Regions from separate parts of the Homo sapiens genome. Here all the other regions are linked to region 4. The links are contacts of gene promoters, found by promoter capture Hi-C in blood cells and fetal thymus (Javierre and others, 2016). All regions are on one chromosome and are shown on one strand. Each heading gives the region's core, a stretch centred on a gene start or on the middle of the fragment in contact. The rest is flanking DNA. Distances are from core to core; before and after follow the strand shown. Region 1 overlaps MS4A4E (membrane spanning 4-domains A4E). Region 2 has its middle 37 kb from the start of MS4A2. Region 3 overlaps MS4A3 (membrane spanning 4-domains A3). Region 4 holds the start of STX3 (syntaxin 3). Region 5 has its middle 18 kb from the start of LINC02705.

Evidence for each region. The method cuts DNA at HindIII sites, captures the fragments that hold promoters and counts their contacts. A CHiCAGO score of 5 or more calls a contact.
Region 1: a fragment that was not itself captured here is called in contact with the fragment with the promoter of STX3 in region 4 in 1 of 17 cell types (erythroblasts); the score reaches 5.7 in erythroblasts.
Region 2: a contact is called between a fragment that was not itself captured here and the fragment with the promoter of STX3 in region 4, in 3 of 17 cell types (M2 macrophages, M0 macrophages and M1 macrophages). The highest score is 7.8, in M2 macrophages.
Region 3: a fragment that was not itself captured here is called in contact with the fragment with the promoter of STX3 in region 4 in 1 of 17 cell types (neutrophils); the score reaches 5.2 in neutrophils.
Region 5: a fragment that was not itself captured here is called in contact with the fragment with the promoter of STX3 in region 4 in 1 of 17 cell types (M2 macrophages); the score reaches 5.1 in M2 macrophages.

Annotation. Positions count from the first base shown.
Region 1 is chr11:60,225,567-60,228,266 of GRCh38, forward strand. All of the region lies in intron 3 of MS4A4E (membrane spanning 4-domains A4E), which reads right to left. Among named protein-coding and RNA genes, the nearest start is that of MS4A4E, 16 kb to the right of the region's middle. The HindIII fragment of the contact is 243 bases long and covers 1,138-1,380 here.
Region 2 is chr11:60,124,270-60,126,969 of GRCh38, forward strand. No RefSeq gene overlaps it. Among named protein-coding and RNA genes, the nearest start is that of MS4A2, 37 kb to the left of the region's middle. The HindIII fragment of the contact is 1,665 bases long and covers 575-2,239 here.
Region 3 is chr11:60,059,390-60,062,089 of GRCh38, forward strand. It overlaps MS4A3 (membrane spanning 4-domains A3), which reads left to right. Exons shown (of 7, transcript NM_006138.5): 2 at 1,757-1,927. The coding sequence starts at 1,772. Among named protein-coding and RNA genes, the nearest start is that of MS4A3, 4.1 kb to the left of the region's middle. The HindIII fragment of the contact is 2,621 bases long and covers 14-2,634 here.
Region 4 is chr11:59,753,946-59,756,645 of GRCh38, forward strand. STX3 (syntaxin 3) reads left to right here and starts at 1,431. Exons shown (of 11, transcript NM_004177.5): 1 at 1,431-1,690. The coding sequence starts at 1,661. RefSeq lists enhancers at 1-361, 51-345, 111-405, 342-501 and a silencer at 1,372-1,631. The HindIII fragment of the contact is 11,536 bases long and covers 1-2,700 here.
Region 5 is chr11:60,145,279-60,147,978 of GRCh38, forward strand. No RefSeq gene overlaps it. Among named protein-coding and RNA genes, the nearest start is that of LINC02705, 18 kb to the right of the region's middle. The HindIII fragment of the contact is 1,328 bases long and covers 650-1,977 here.

The DNA.
Region 1 (2,700 bases), core at 9-2,508, 470 kb after region 4:
ATAGGAGCTGGAGTACAATTATCTCATGGCATTATAAATGGGTCAAAAAATTAAAACAACTTATCAAAATTTATGGGATGTAGTGAAAGCAGTGCTTAGAAAAAATTTATAACATTGAATGAATATATTAGAAAATAATGATCAAAATCAATCACCTGAGAGTCTACCTTAAGAAACTGGAAAAAGAAAAGCAAATTAAACTCCAAGTAAGCGGAAGAAAAAAAAGTAATAGAAATTAGAGCAGAAATCATAAAATTAAAAACAGAAAATTAATAGACAAACTCAATGAAATCCAATGCTTTTTTTTAAAAAAAAGAAAAATACATAAATAAAATCAATAAGCCTTTAGCCAGTCTAAGAGAAAGAGAGAGAGGACACAGATTACTCATAAGTGAAAGGGGGAATATCACTACAGTTCCCATAGTAATTAAAAGGATAATAAAATAACTCTACGAACAATTCTGTGCCCACAATTTGATAACCTTGAGCCAATGAATTGCTCCTTAAAGACAATTTGTCAAAATTCACACAAGAAGAAATAGGCACTCTGAATAAGCCTATAATTATTAAATAAATAAAATAAATAATTAATTAATTTTCAAAACAGAAAGCACCAGGCCTGGAAAGGTTTGGAATTCTACCAAACACTTGAAAATGAAATTATACCAATTCTTTACAGAAAACAGAAAAAGAGGAAATACTCCCTAACTCATTCTATGGAGCTAGCACTATTATCTACCAAAAAAAAAAGTCAAAAACATTACAAGAAAAGAAAACTGCAGACCAACATCTCTGGTGAACAAAGATGCAAAAATTCCCAACAAAACATGTGCAAACTAAATCTAATAGTGTATCAAAAGAATTATATACCATAACCATATGGGATTTATCCCAGATATGCAAGGCTGACTAGACATTCAAAAATCAATGAATGTAACTAATGACATCAACAGGCTAAAAGGAAGAAAAATCACATGATTATATCAACAGATGCAGGAAAAATATTGAGCAAAATCCAATGCCTGTTTATTATAAAAACTTTTGAAAAACTATTAATAGAGGATAACTTGTTTAGGTTGATAAAGAATATTTATTAATAAAACTACAGCTAACTTCATACTTAATGGAGAAATTCAAAGCTTTCTCACTAAGATCAGGACCAAGGCAGGGATAAGCCTGTCACTACTCCTTTTACCATTTACTGGAAGTCATAGCTGAAATGGTAAGACAAGAAAAGGAAATAAAGGTATACAATTGGTAAGGAAAAAAATAAAACTGCTTTTATTCACAGATGACGTGATTGTCTGTGTAGAATATCTGAAAGAATCAACCAAAAACTCCTGGAATTAACAAATGATTATATTAAGGTTGTAGGATACAAGCTTAATACACAAGAGTCAATTACTTTCTTATGTACTTATAGTAAATAAGTGAAATTTGAAATTAAAAATGCAATACTATTTAAATTAGCAACCCTAAAAATTAAATATTTAGGTATTGGTATTTGGTGTTTGTTAGGCATAAATCTAACAAACTATGTACAAAATCTATAAGAGAAACTTAAAAAAAAATAAGTCGAATAACTAAATAAATGGAGAGATATTCCATGTCCATGGATAGGAAGACTCAACATTGTCAAGACATCAGTTCTTCCCAATTTAATCTGTAGATTTAATGCAATCTCCCTCAAAATATTAGCAAATGGCCGGGCGTGGTGGCTCACCCCTGTAATCCCAGCACTTTGGGAGGCCGAAGCGGGCGGATCACGAGGTCAGGAGATTGAGACCATCCTGGCTAACATGGTGAAACCCCATCTCTACTAAAAATACAAAAAGTTAGCCAGGCATAGTGGCAGGCGCCTGTAGTCCCAGCTACTCCAGAGGCTGAGGCAGGAGAATGGTGTGAACCCGGGAGGCAGAGCTTGCAGTGAGCTGAGATTGGGCCACTGCACTCCAGCCTGGGTGACAGCGCCAGACTCCATCTCAAAATATATATATATATATTAGCAAATTATTTGTGTATATTGATAAACTGACTCTAAAGTTTATAGGGAAAGGCAAAAGACTTAGAATAACAAAAACAATCTTGAAGAAGAAGGAGTTTTAGGAGTAACACTACCCATCTTTAGGACAAACTATAAAGTGATAGTAATCAGGACTGTGTGATATTGGCAAAGAAATAGACAAATAGATCAAGGGAATAGAATAGAAAGCCTAGAAATAGACACAGAAGTATAGTCAAGTGATCTTTGATAAAGAACTAAGATAATACAATTAGAAGAATAGTCTTTCCAAAAAAAAAATACTACTTAAAAAACTGGACCTCCATAGGCAAAAATTGAACTTAGACACATACCTTGTATCCTTCACAAAAATTAACTCAAAATAAATCACAGACCCAAATGTTGAACTCAAAACTCTGAAACTCTTAACAGATGACATAGGCCAAAATCTAGATGACCTTGGTTTTGGTGATGAGTTTGTCAATACAATACCAAAGGCACAACCCATGAAATACCGAATTAATCATCTTAATTTTATTAAAATTAAAAAATTCTGCTCTGCAGAAGACACTGTCAGAAGAAAAGATAAACCACAGACTGACAGAAGGTATTTGCAAAAAACATACCTGACAAAGGATTGTTATTCAAAATATACAACGAAATTCAAACTCAACATTAAGAATACTAACATCCCAATT
Region 2 (2,700 bases), core at 157-2,656, 370 kb after region 4:
TTTCTCACCTGCCTTTGAAGAAAATAAAACTATTTTACCCCAATTTATACTTCTTTGATGTATTTTGAGATGTCTGTTCAGAGAGCCAGCAAACAGAAGTAGCCCTGAAAAGCTGTCTTTTGAGGGAGGGGATCTGCAACTGCAGAGAAAATCTACATTAATGCAGCCAGGTTTTATTTGAGGCCAGCCCTTGTGCAAATCCAGAAAAGATTAACTGATAGATAGGCTGATATCTTTAAAGGTCTGAAAAAAAGATTTACTACCTGTTTTCTCTGAGGGCTACTACCTGTGAAGTTTCATCTACATAACAAGACCAACTTTGCTAGTCAGGCCTCCTCTTTTTCCTCTTTTCTCCCATAACCTGTGTTACCACCATAACCTGCTTTGTCATGTATGTATACTGGGCAGTGACATTTTGAAAATTATCTGGGCAGTGAACTTAATTCAAATTAATTGGGACAACAATTTAGATTTCAAGAAAAATTAAGTTGGAAATTATAGGAGATCGGTCAGGGTGGCGGGAAAAATTATAGAAAGAAGCAAATCTTCTTGGAAGGCCAGGAGGTTTTGCAAAAGCTTGGGGAAAGGATATAGCTGAAGGCAGCTGAATTCTCTCGGAGTAGATAACAAGGAAGCACAATGGAATTGATATAGATAAGTTAGTTTACTTAGGCCTTGGAACCTGGCCTTTAATTATCTGCGTGCAGGACTGCTCTCCCCAGGGGTGGGGAGGGGGGCCCAACCGTGTTAATTACTCAAGGCCTTTGTGATTAAATCTGTACTGAATAAATGCCCCCAAAGCTAGCTTGTCGAGGCTGCGGCTGCTGACTCTTTATGGCACCCTCCTCAGGGTCTTTGAGCAGCCCAGTCCCCTAGCCATGCAGCCAGGCAAGAAACCTGTGTCTGGCATACTCCATTCATCCGTCGCTCAGTCAGGGTCTGAGGGTCAGACACGGCAGGAAATCACAGGAAACTATTTTTAAGATAGATTGCTGTTTTACATACTTCTTCCAAAATAGTACCAAGTAGAAAGAACAACTCGAACTGTTTTTCCTCTGCTCTCACACCAGAGACACAACATATAGACTTCTGCGACCAAACGTGTGGGGATTTCTCCCCACCAAAAAGGCAAGCAATCATTTCTGGAGTGAACACCAGCTGGCTGTCCTTCAATTCTGTTGAGACATCATCTAAACTGGAGATAATATCAGATTCCATGGTTTGAGGGCTCAGTCTCACAAGACTTTTTCCCATTTCCAATGCCAATCAGAAGCCCTGGGTTATTTTGCCTGTACTTCTGACTGACCCACTATAAATCAGGGATCCCATGCCCCCAGTCTTGGACTTAACTAATTTGCTGGAGCACCTCACAGATCTCAGGGAAACATGTTTATCAGTGTATTATAAAGGAAATAATAAAGGATACTGTTGACCTAAACAAAGAAACCAAGACAAAATTAATATAGGTAGAGAGTTTATTTTGACTAAGGTTGAGGACTGAAGCCCAGCAAACACTGGGAAGTGCTCCTGAGATCAAAGAAAAGGCTCAAGTTTTTGAAGAAAAAAGGTAGAATTAGGGGAGATGATTACAAAAGTTCTCTTTTCAGAAATTTGTGTTGGTTTACAGAGATAACTTGATTCATGATTGGCTATAAGGTTCGACTTATGCTGCCAGCATATGGCATCATTATGTTAATTGAGTCTAGAGTCCTTATAGCAGGTGGCTTAGAAATGATTACTTAGCTCAAGGAGGAGAGGGTGGGACATGACTGTAATCTAATTTCAATGTCTCTCTGGGCCTGATAATTTAAAAGGGAGATTGCATTTCACAATAAAAAGTTTAGTTTCTTTTGCAATACAAACAAAGAACCAGGTGAAGAGGTATATAGGGCAAGGTCCAGAAGGGTCCCAAGCACAGGAGCTTCTGTCCTCATGGAATGTGCTAAACTTCCTGCACATCAATGAGTTCTTGTTCATCTTCTTGTAAGCCTATGTATTACCTGGAAACCCTCCAAAACCTGTCCTTTTGGGTTTTATGAAGGCTTTATTATATAGGCATGACTAATTGAACCATTGGTCATTAGTGATTAACTGAATTTTCAGCCCCTCTTCCCCTTCCTGGAAGTTGAGGGTTGAGACAAAAAAATCCAACCCTCTGGGCACAATGAATCATTCCCCTGGGAATCAGCCCTCCAACCAGTTGTTTCTAGGGCTTTCTAAAAATTGTCTTATTAACATAAGCTTAGGAGTATTTTATTTTATGTATTTATTTTTTCTTTTTAAAAAACTTTTTATTAAAAAAAGTTTAAACCTTTAGAAAAGTTACAAAAATTGTAAAATGAACTCTCATATGCCTTTACCTAGATTCATCAACTTTTTCTTTTTCTTTCACAATTTTTTTTATTATTATACTTTAAGTTCTGGGGTACATGTGCACAACATGCAGGTTTGTTACATATGTATACATGTGCCATGTTGGTGTGCTGCACCCGTTAACTTGTTTATTTACATTGGGTATATCTCTAGCTTAGGAGTATTTTAAAGCACTTGTTGTAAATAACAAAAGACTGTCTTTCAACTTTATCTTTTAGGAGTGACTTCAGGAACCAAGGATAATCAAATACTTTAACAAAAGATATTCTTACTGCTTTAGTACTTGGGGCATGAGAAGTCTTATAGGAATCTTCCTAGTTGAAAACT
Region 3 (2,700 bases), core at 74-2,573, 310 kb after region 4:
TTTTTCAATAAAAAGCTTTTATTTTAGGTTTACGGGTACATGTACAGGTTCGTTATATAGGTAAATTCGTGCCACAGGGGTGTGTTGTGCAGATTGTCACCCAGGTACTAAGCCTAGTACTCAATAGTTATTTTTCCCGATCTCCTCCCTCCTCTCTCTGATAATCTCCAGTTGTTTTGTTCCCCTCTATGTGTCCATTTGTTCTTAGCATTTAGCTCCCACTTATAAGTGAGAATATGTGGTATTTGGTTTTCTGTTCCTGTATTAGCTTTCTAAGGATAATGGCTTCTACTTCATCCATGTTCCTGCAAAAGACATGATCTCATTCCTTTTTATGGCTGCATAGTATTCCACAGTGTGTATGTACCACATTTTCTTCATCCAGTCTACAAATGATGGACATTTAGGTTGATTCTATGTCTTTGCTATTGTGAATAGTGCTGCAATGAACATTCACGTGCATGTGTTTTATGGTAGAATGATTTATATTAAGATCTTATTCTTAACCCAATCGATAGTTATGGCAGAATACAGCATCATTTTATGTGTTTGTTTATGGTTCATCTCATGCCATCTCCCTCATCAGTTATAAAAGCATATAAGCATTTTACAACTATTTTGTGTAGGAGGGTACTATGAATTAGGAAGTTATCTTGCCCAACATTCAGAAGTCCAATGTAAGCATTCTGTGTGTACTTTAGTGATACATATTTTTCAGCTGTAATGATTGAGGTGGTTGTTTTGTGACCCTTATATATATACAAACTTGAAGTCCTTTTTGTTAGAAGGCAGAGTATAAGTTAAAAGCTGATACCACCTGTTCACAGGTTGAGAATTCCGTACATTATCAAAGTCAACTCTCGCAATGTTAATATAAAATTAAAATTATTCCCATTTTTACAGAAGTGAAAACTGAGGTTCCCACTACAAGGTCATGCAACTAGTAAGTGATGAAATCTGGATTTGAATTGGAATCTTCCATAGTGCTTAAACTCTGAAAACTGAGGTTCCCATTACTAGGTCATGCAACTAGTAAATGATGAAATCTGGATTTGAATTTGGATCTTCCATAGTGCTTAAACTCTACCATGCTATGTTGGTACTCAGAAAGACGTCTTCTATATAGTACTATATAATGTGGTGATTTGAAAAATATTGGACCTTAGAGTAGAATGTTTTTAGTAAAATCTGAAATGATTTATAAGCCATATGAGTTTGGGTAAGTTTCTCGGTCTCTCTATACCTCAATTTTTTTCATCTGTGAAACGGGAATAATAATAATATTATAACAGGATTAAGTATATTAATACATTCACAGCATCCAGACAGTGCTTGGCATATAGTAATAAGTACTAAATAAATGACACCTACTATTATTACTGGAATGTGACTAAAGCCATTATTCTTATAAAGAGACCACTGCTCAGAGAAACCATATGTCTGGTTGCCCTTGACTGACTTGAAGAAAGGCAGGGACTATATATCAGTGCATGCAAAATGAGAAAGAAATTGCTCTTTACCATTCCAAAGTTAAGTGAAGCACCAAGGCCTACTACAATGACCCGATGATGTCTACTACTCCAAGGCAAGACAGAATTGAATATTGTACAAACTCTGTTACTCTGCCCTGGTGTCCCATTTGTGGAGAGTCATTGTAATGTATGGACAGAATTGAACCCTTCTGTAACACTCAAAATTTTAGTAGCTAGTGGAAAAAGGGAAAGCATGAAGGCTTTGGATTTCTTTTCTATCACAGCCATAAACAACCCCAATGGCCTCCCACGAAGTTGATAATGCAGAGCTGGGGTCAGCCTCTGCCCATGGTACCCCAGGCAGTGAGGCGGGACCAGAAGAGCTGAATACTTCTGTCTACCAGCCCATAGATGGATCACCAGATTATCAGAAAGCAAAATTACAAGTTCTTGGGGTAAGTCAGCCTTAGTTTAAACACTGATTTAAGAGGGAAGAAAATAAATACAGTTGACCTGTGAATAACGTGCGTTTGAACTGTGAGGATTCCCTTACATGTGGATTTCTTCCACCTCTGTTTGCCATCCCGAGACAGCAAGAACAACCCCTGCTCTCCCTCTTCTTCCTCAGTCTATTCAACGTGAAGAGGATGAGGATGAAGACCTTTATGATAATCTACTTCCACTTAATGAATAGTAAATACATTTTCTCTTTCTTATGATTTCCTTAACGTTTTTAGTTTCTCTAGCTTATTGTATATAATATGTCACATACAAAATATGTGATAATCGACTGTTTATATTAATAGTAAGACTTCTGGTCAACAGTAGGCTATTAGTAGTTAAGTTTTTGGGAAGTCATAAGTTTTACGTGGATTTACCACCATGAAAGGGTGGGCATTCCAAACCCCAATGTTGTTCAAGAGCCAACTGTATCATGTAGAAAACCTTGCTTATGCTGAGAAGGAGGAAATTCTGAGTTATTTATCACTGACTTAATAATGATTGGAGAAAAGACAGGGACTTCTTATAGATCTGGGGAGCAGAAATGCAAAGGCATTTTCTCATGGTAGAAAACATCAAACCTTGGAGAACAGATTCCAAGACCCTTCATTTTTTGTTTTGTGCCTTTTGACCAGCCATTTGAGGAGGCTGAGCTCTATGAAGCTTATATTCTATATTTTAAATTTAAAAATTGGGTTGAGAGAAGGGTTAAAAATTGGGTTGAGAG
Region 4 (2,700 bases), core at 181-2,680:
GAGGCTGCAGAGAGCGGTGATCGCGCCACTGCACTCAACTTGCGCAACAGAATGAGACTCTGTCTAAAAAACAAACAAACAAACAAACAAACAAACAAACAACCCCCAAACTCCCCAAAAATGTGTTAGGGGAAGGAGGTGGGACAGTGTGTATTTCTGATCTACTCGCCTTTCCTAGTATGACCACCAGGGGGCGCGGAAGCCCTCCTGGTACTAAGGCGGGGACAACCTGCCCAGCGAGCACAGCGGGCAGAAGGAAGTGTGCCGGACGCGAGAGAGAACTACGGCCGAGACCCGCGGGGCCGGCTCAAAGCCCGACCTCTGCCATACGCACCGTATCTTTATGGGAGCCGATGAGGTCAGCAGGGAGCACGCGTTCAGATGGCAGAAGAGGGCAAAGTACTGCTAGAATTACAAAGATATTTACAGCTTTTTAACCTGAAAGCACAGAGCAGATCCTATTCTTCAGAATTAAATCTTCGGCTCGCCAGTCCCGTTTATGGATCTCCACTCTGATGAATGTGCCATTTGTTCCCAAGAAGACAAATAGGGTAGGGAGAAGAGGGAGAGGCGGGGAGAAGACTCGAGATAAAGGGACGATCTGCTTTTCGGAAGCAGAAGCCGCCTGGGAACCACCTGCACACCAAGCAGGCTGCGAGGACGGGGAGCGCTCCAGTGCAAAGTTCTGTATTTTAAAGCCCCTCCTCGCTCACAGGCTTCACAGCGAACTACGAAGTGGGTACCATCTCTGATTTACAGACACGGGAACGGGGTCCTCTTGAGAAACGATGCTTTCCCAAACGTCTGCAAATTGTGAGTGCCAAGTGTCTCCACTGGCACTAACAACATCGAGCTGCTTACGTTTCTCGGAGCGGTCCCGATTTCCAACAAGCAAAAGATCCAAATTCTCTGACCACCCTGACCGTCCTGTATCTCCAGATCTCCAGGTCTTTCCTCTGGACACCTCCTCCATCCCCCCACTTTCACTGCCAGCAGCCCTGAGGCTGCGCGGGATCCCGCTACTCGGAATGCCTTCCTCCTGGCGGGATATTTTTAGAACACTCGACTGCCACCCAATGTAGCCCACATCACATTGTCTTATTTGTTTTCGGGAGCTTGTCCCCGCCTAGCAAGGAGTCGGCTAAGAACTGGATCCTAGCGAGGAGCCCGGCACAGACAGCGAATGACCGCAGCCAGACAGTCGCTCTTGCTCTTCCTCGGCCCTGCGGCAGGATCCGCCGGTGCAGGGGCCTCTCCCCGGACTCCACGCGTGTCTGGAGGGCTCTCGGGTTAGGGAAGGGGGCTTTGGAGACGCCCCGGGCGGCCGGGCGGTGGCGGGACGCGGGCCCTTTAAGAAGGAGCGAGGGGCGCGGCCAGGTAGGGGCGGGTCCAGGGCGGATCAGCGCTGCGCCGGCGCCGGCCCGGGAGCCGGATTTGGAGCGCGAGGCGCCGGTGGGGGCGGAGGGGGCTGCGCGGCGGAGGCTCCCGTGGCCTCGGACGCTCCTCCTAGCTAGCGGCCGCCGCCCGCCGCCGCCTGCGCCTCCAGCTCCTTCGCCCCGGCGGGCCCGGCCGCCGCTTCCGGCAGCTCACCTGGGAAGCGCTCACCTGGGACGCGCTCACCTGGGACGCGCTACCTGCCTCCGGGCGCCTGGGCTTCAGGATGAAGGACCGTCTGGAGCAGCTGAAGGCCGTGAGTTTCGCCGCAGGCGGGGTGCTGCCAGGAGGGGTGCTGCATGGGAGAGGGGCTTCCCTTTGCTCCCCAAGTCGAGGCTGGAGGGGGGCCCGAGCCGGAGGCTTGCCCTCCCCAAGCCCCCACCGCTTCCCGCGCCGGTTCCGCACCCTCCCCTCCCCTCCCCTGCGGGGTCATGTGCCCGGTGATTCATCGCTAGGCAATGATTTTCCTGAACGCCTCTAACTCTCCCACCCCGCAAGCTGGACAGTGTCTGTCCAGAGCTGGTTCCCGAAGCGGGTGCTTGGGCCCGGGAGGTCAGGGGTCCCTTCACCACCTGCCCACTGCTGCCTGGCACTATGCCCAGGACCAGCCTCCTTCTCCCTTTCCTGTTTCTCTCCTGAGGTGCTACAGGCCTGGCTGCCCCTTCCCCCAGGGAGCAGCTCAGAGCTCTCTGGTGACCTCTGGAGCTGTGAGCCGGTCACATGCTGGGATGGGTCAGCTCCTCTCCAACCGGTGGTCTGTAATTGTTATCCCCGGGTGTCATTGTCCCCCCCTCCCCCGCCGTATCTTTTGGAACAGCTGTGGTTAGGTCAAAGGATCTGAAGGTAGACTACCTCCAGCCTTGGCTGCGCAAAAGCTGTAAAGCCTTAGGTTACTTACTGTGAGTCTCTGTTTCCTTATCTATCAAATGGGAATGATCATACCCTAGGAATTTGTTGGGAGGATCAGCTGATACAATGGAACTTGATACAGAAAAGGGTTAACGCATAGGGTTTTAAGCCAGATATTCATTGACTCATTCAGTACATAATTATTGAGTGTATTCTATGGGGAGGTCCAGTGCTAAGCCTTGGAGATTCAGTGGCACAGGTTCTACCTTAATAGAATTAAAATCTAGCCCTTGACACTCAAGAGTTTAGTCCATCTACTTTGGAGCTTGTTACAAGTGTAGCAGCTTAGGCCTGAGTCTAGCCCCGCAGAATCAGAATCTAATTATTCATCCATTTCCCCAGGTGATTCATGGGCAC
Region 5 (2,700 bases), core at 64-2,563, 390 kb after region 4:
TGGATGGAAAAATGGGGCAAACTTCCCAATACCCAGAGGGTAATAAGTAAAAGGCCAGAATGAGCAGAGATGAAAACCATATTATAAGCAGATCTTGCTGTATTTCTTGGGGAGCAAATCTCAATTCCTGCCTAAGAGAATCAAATAAAGTCTATGAATAGGTAACTCCAGGATTACTAATTATTTCTTTGTCCAACTAGATGTTTTTATTCTTTTTAATCCTCCTAATTGATCATGGTATTTTGACTGTGAGTGTGGGAAAGTACAGACAACATGATTTCCCAAATAACAAGAAAGTGGTTCCAGAATTGTAGGAAAAATAATGTTAAATCATTAAAAATTTCCTGAGATTGTGCTAAGTATAACAAATGTCTGAGACTCTGGATTTTCTACCTCGATGAGAAAATAAGTGCATTTCCTTTTTGGGGAGAGAGTTGAACATTTGGGTGGCCAGAGAAAAGACTGTGTTAGGGCCAGAGAATGTGGATTGTCTAGCAATTTTTATTCTGATCTTGCTTCCTTGAATAGAGCTCCTGGTTTTAACCTAGACATACAACTGCTCAGTCAATAGCTAGATTTCGTCACCACTCATAACTGTGTGTGGTTATATGACAAAGATCTGTCCATATGATGCAGACATAAAGGAAAAAGCTTTAGTTACAACTTTCATACCTTAAAAGAAGCCACACAAGGAAGAAAGCAAAGCTATACTCCCGGGTACGGACTACCTACTCCTGAGCTGTTGCAGAACAGGAAAATCAAATGACAATTTCTTTAAATCACTTTGTATATAGTCCTAGTTCACAGCATGTTAAATGTACTGTATCACAGTAGTATAATTTATCTCTTTCTTTTTGTCACCCAAGGTGAAGTGCACTGTTCAATCAACACTTACTGTAATCTCAGTCTCCTGGGCTCAAACAGTTCTACCACCTCAGTCTCCCAAGTAGCTAGTACTACAGGCATGTGCCACACATCCGGCCAATGTTTTATTTTCTGTAGAGATGGGGTCTCACTCTGTTGCCCAGCTTTGTCTTGAACTCCTGGACTCAAGTAATCCTCTCACCTCAGCTTCCCAAAGTACTAAGATTACAGGCATGAACCACTACGCCAGGGCCAATTTATTTCTTCATTGGGCAATTGACTTTATATACTTTGAGTGTTTTGTTTTGTTTTGTTTTTTGAGACACAATTTCCTTCTGTCACCCAGGTTGGAGTGCAGTGGTATAATCTCAGCTCACTGCAAACTCCGCCTCCCAGGTTCAAGTGACTCTTGTGCCTCAGCCTCCTGAGCAGCTGCGATTACAGACGTGCACCGCCACGCCCAACTAATTTTTGTATTTATAGTAGAGATGGGGTTTCTCCATGTTGGTCAAGCTGGTCTCAAACTCCTGGCCTCATGTGATCTACCTGCCTCCGCCTCCCAAAGTGCTAGGATTACAGGTGTGAGCTACTGCGCCCAGCCTACTTTGAGTTTTTTTGAAGTGAATGGCCTACTTTCATATCCTTACCATGTGCACAGTGTATCAAACAAATAAGTGTTCAATAGATATTAAATCAACTAATGAATCAATTAACAAATAATATTGAATTACTTGGTGTTACCGTTGAGAGTTTCTGAGTATCCTAGGTGTTTATAAATGTAGGGCAAATATGACCAAAATACTGTTTGAGGAGTGGTCCTCAAAAACTATACACGAACAACAGCTGTGCCTTTCTTCCTCTTAACAAATATTTGAAAAATTATATGCAAGATTACTAAATAAAATAATCAATTGCATCCTCATTCTCTCAACTGTTACTCACCCAACTGATTTTACTGCCATCTGCAGTATAGGTGAGTGTGCAGAGAGCAAAAGTAATTGAAAGTTGCAAGCAGTTTAGCATCATCAGTACAATCACAAGGCCCCGTTAAAGAGAACAGAATTCCGTTGGCTGGGATTCCACCTCATGGTCGTATCAAGACTTGTATCCTAAAGCTTCATCTCAGGCCTTTGGAGTCCCCTCCACTTTGCATTAAACAAAATGATGACACGAGTTTGAATCTCAATTCAAAAATATATGTTCTGCTTTTGAAGAAGAAGTGGATTTCAAAAAAATAAAACAAAACACCAACACAAAACAAAACAAAGCAAACAATAACAACAAAAAGCCAGCGTTACTTTGAATTTTAACGCAACAGTGCCTGTATTAAAAAATAGTCTCGGTAACTTTCCAGTATTCCCAACGATCATTTTGCTGAGGGCTTTCAGAGGTTGGAGGGTGGGAGCAGGGAGAGGATCAGGAAAAATAACTAATGGGTACTAGGCTTAATACCTGGGTGATGAAATAGTCTGTACAGCACGTTCCAATGCCACAAGTTTATCTATATAAGAAACCTGCACTTGTACCCATGAACTTAAAATAAAAGTTAAAGAAAAAGGCCCGAAGACAGTCCAATGGATAAGGGTCTAGGGAGAAAGTTCAAAAGTTCCTGATTAATAAACACTTTCATGTGCAAAAAAAAAAAATAGGATCTCTTCTCAGACGTCAGAAAAAAATGCAGTATCTGCACATTTTTTCAACGGATAGGGAATTCATGGAGAAATGGTAATGGACCCAGATCTCCCTACCGAATCTAGTCTCCTAAATAAAACTAAGAAGTCTCCAAAAGTTAGACGTTTCTGGAAATAAATGATTCATCTGACAGATGTGAAAGTA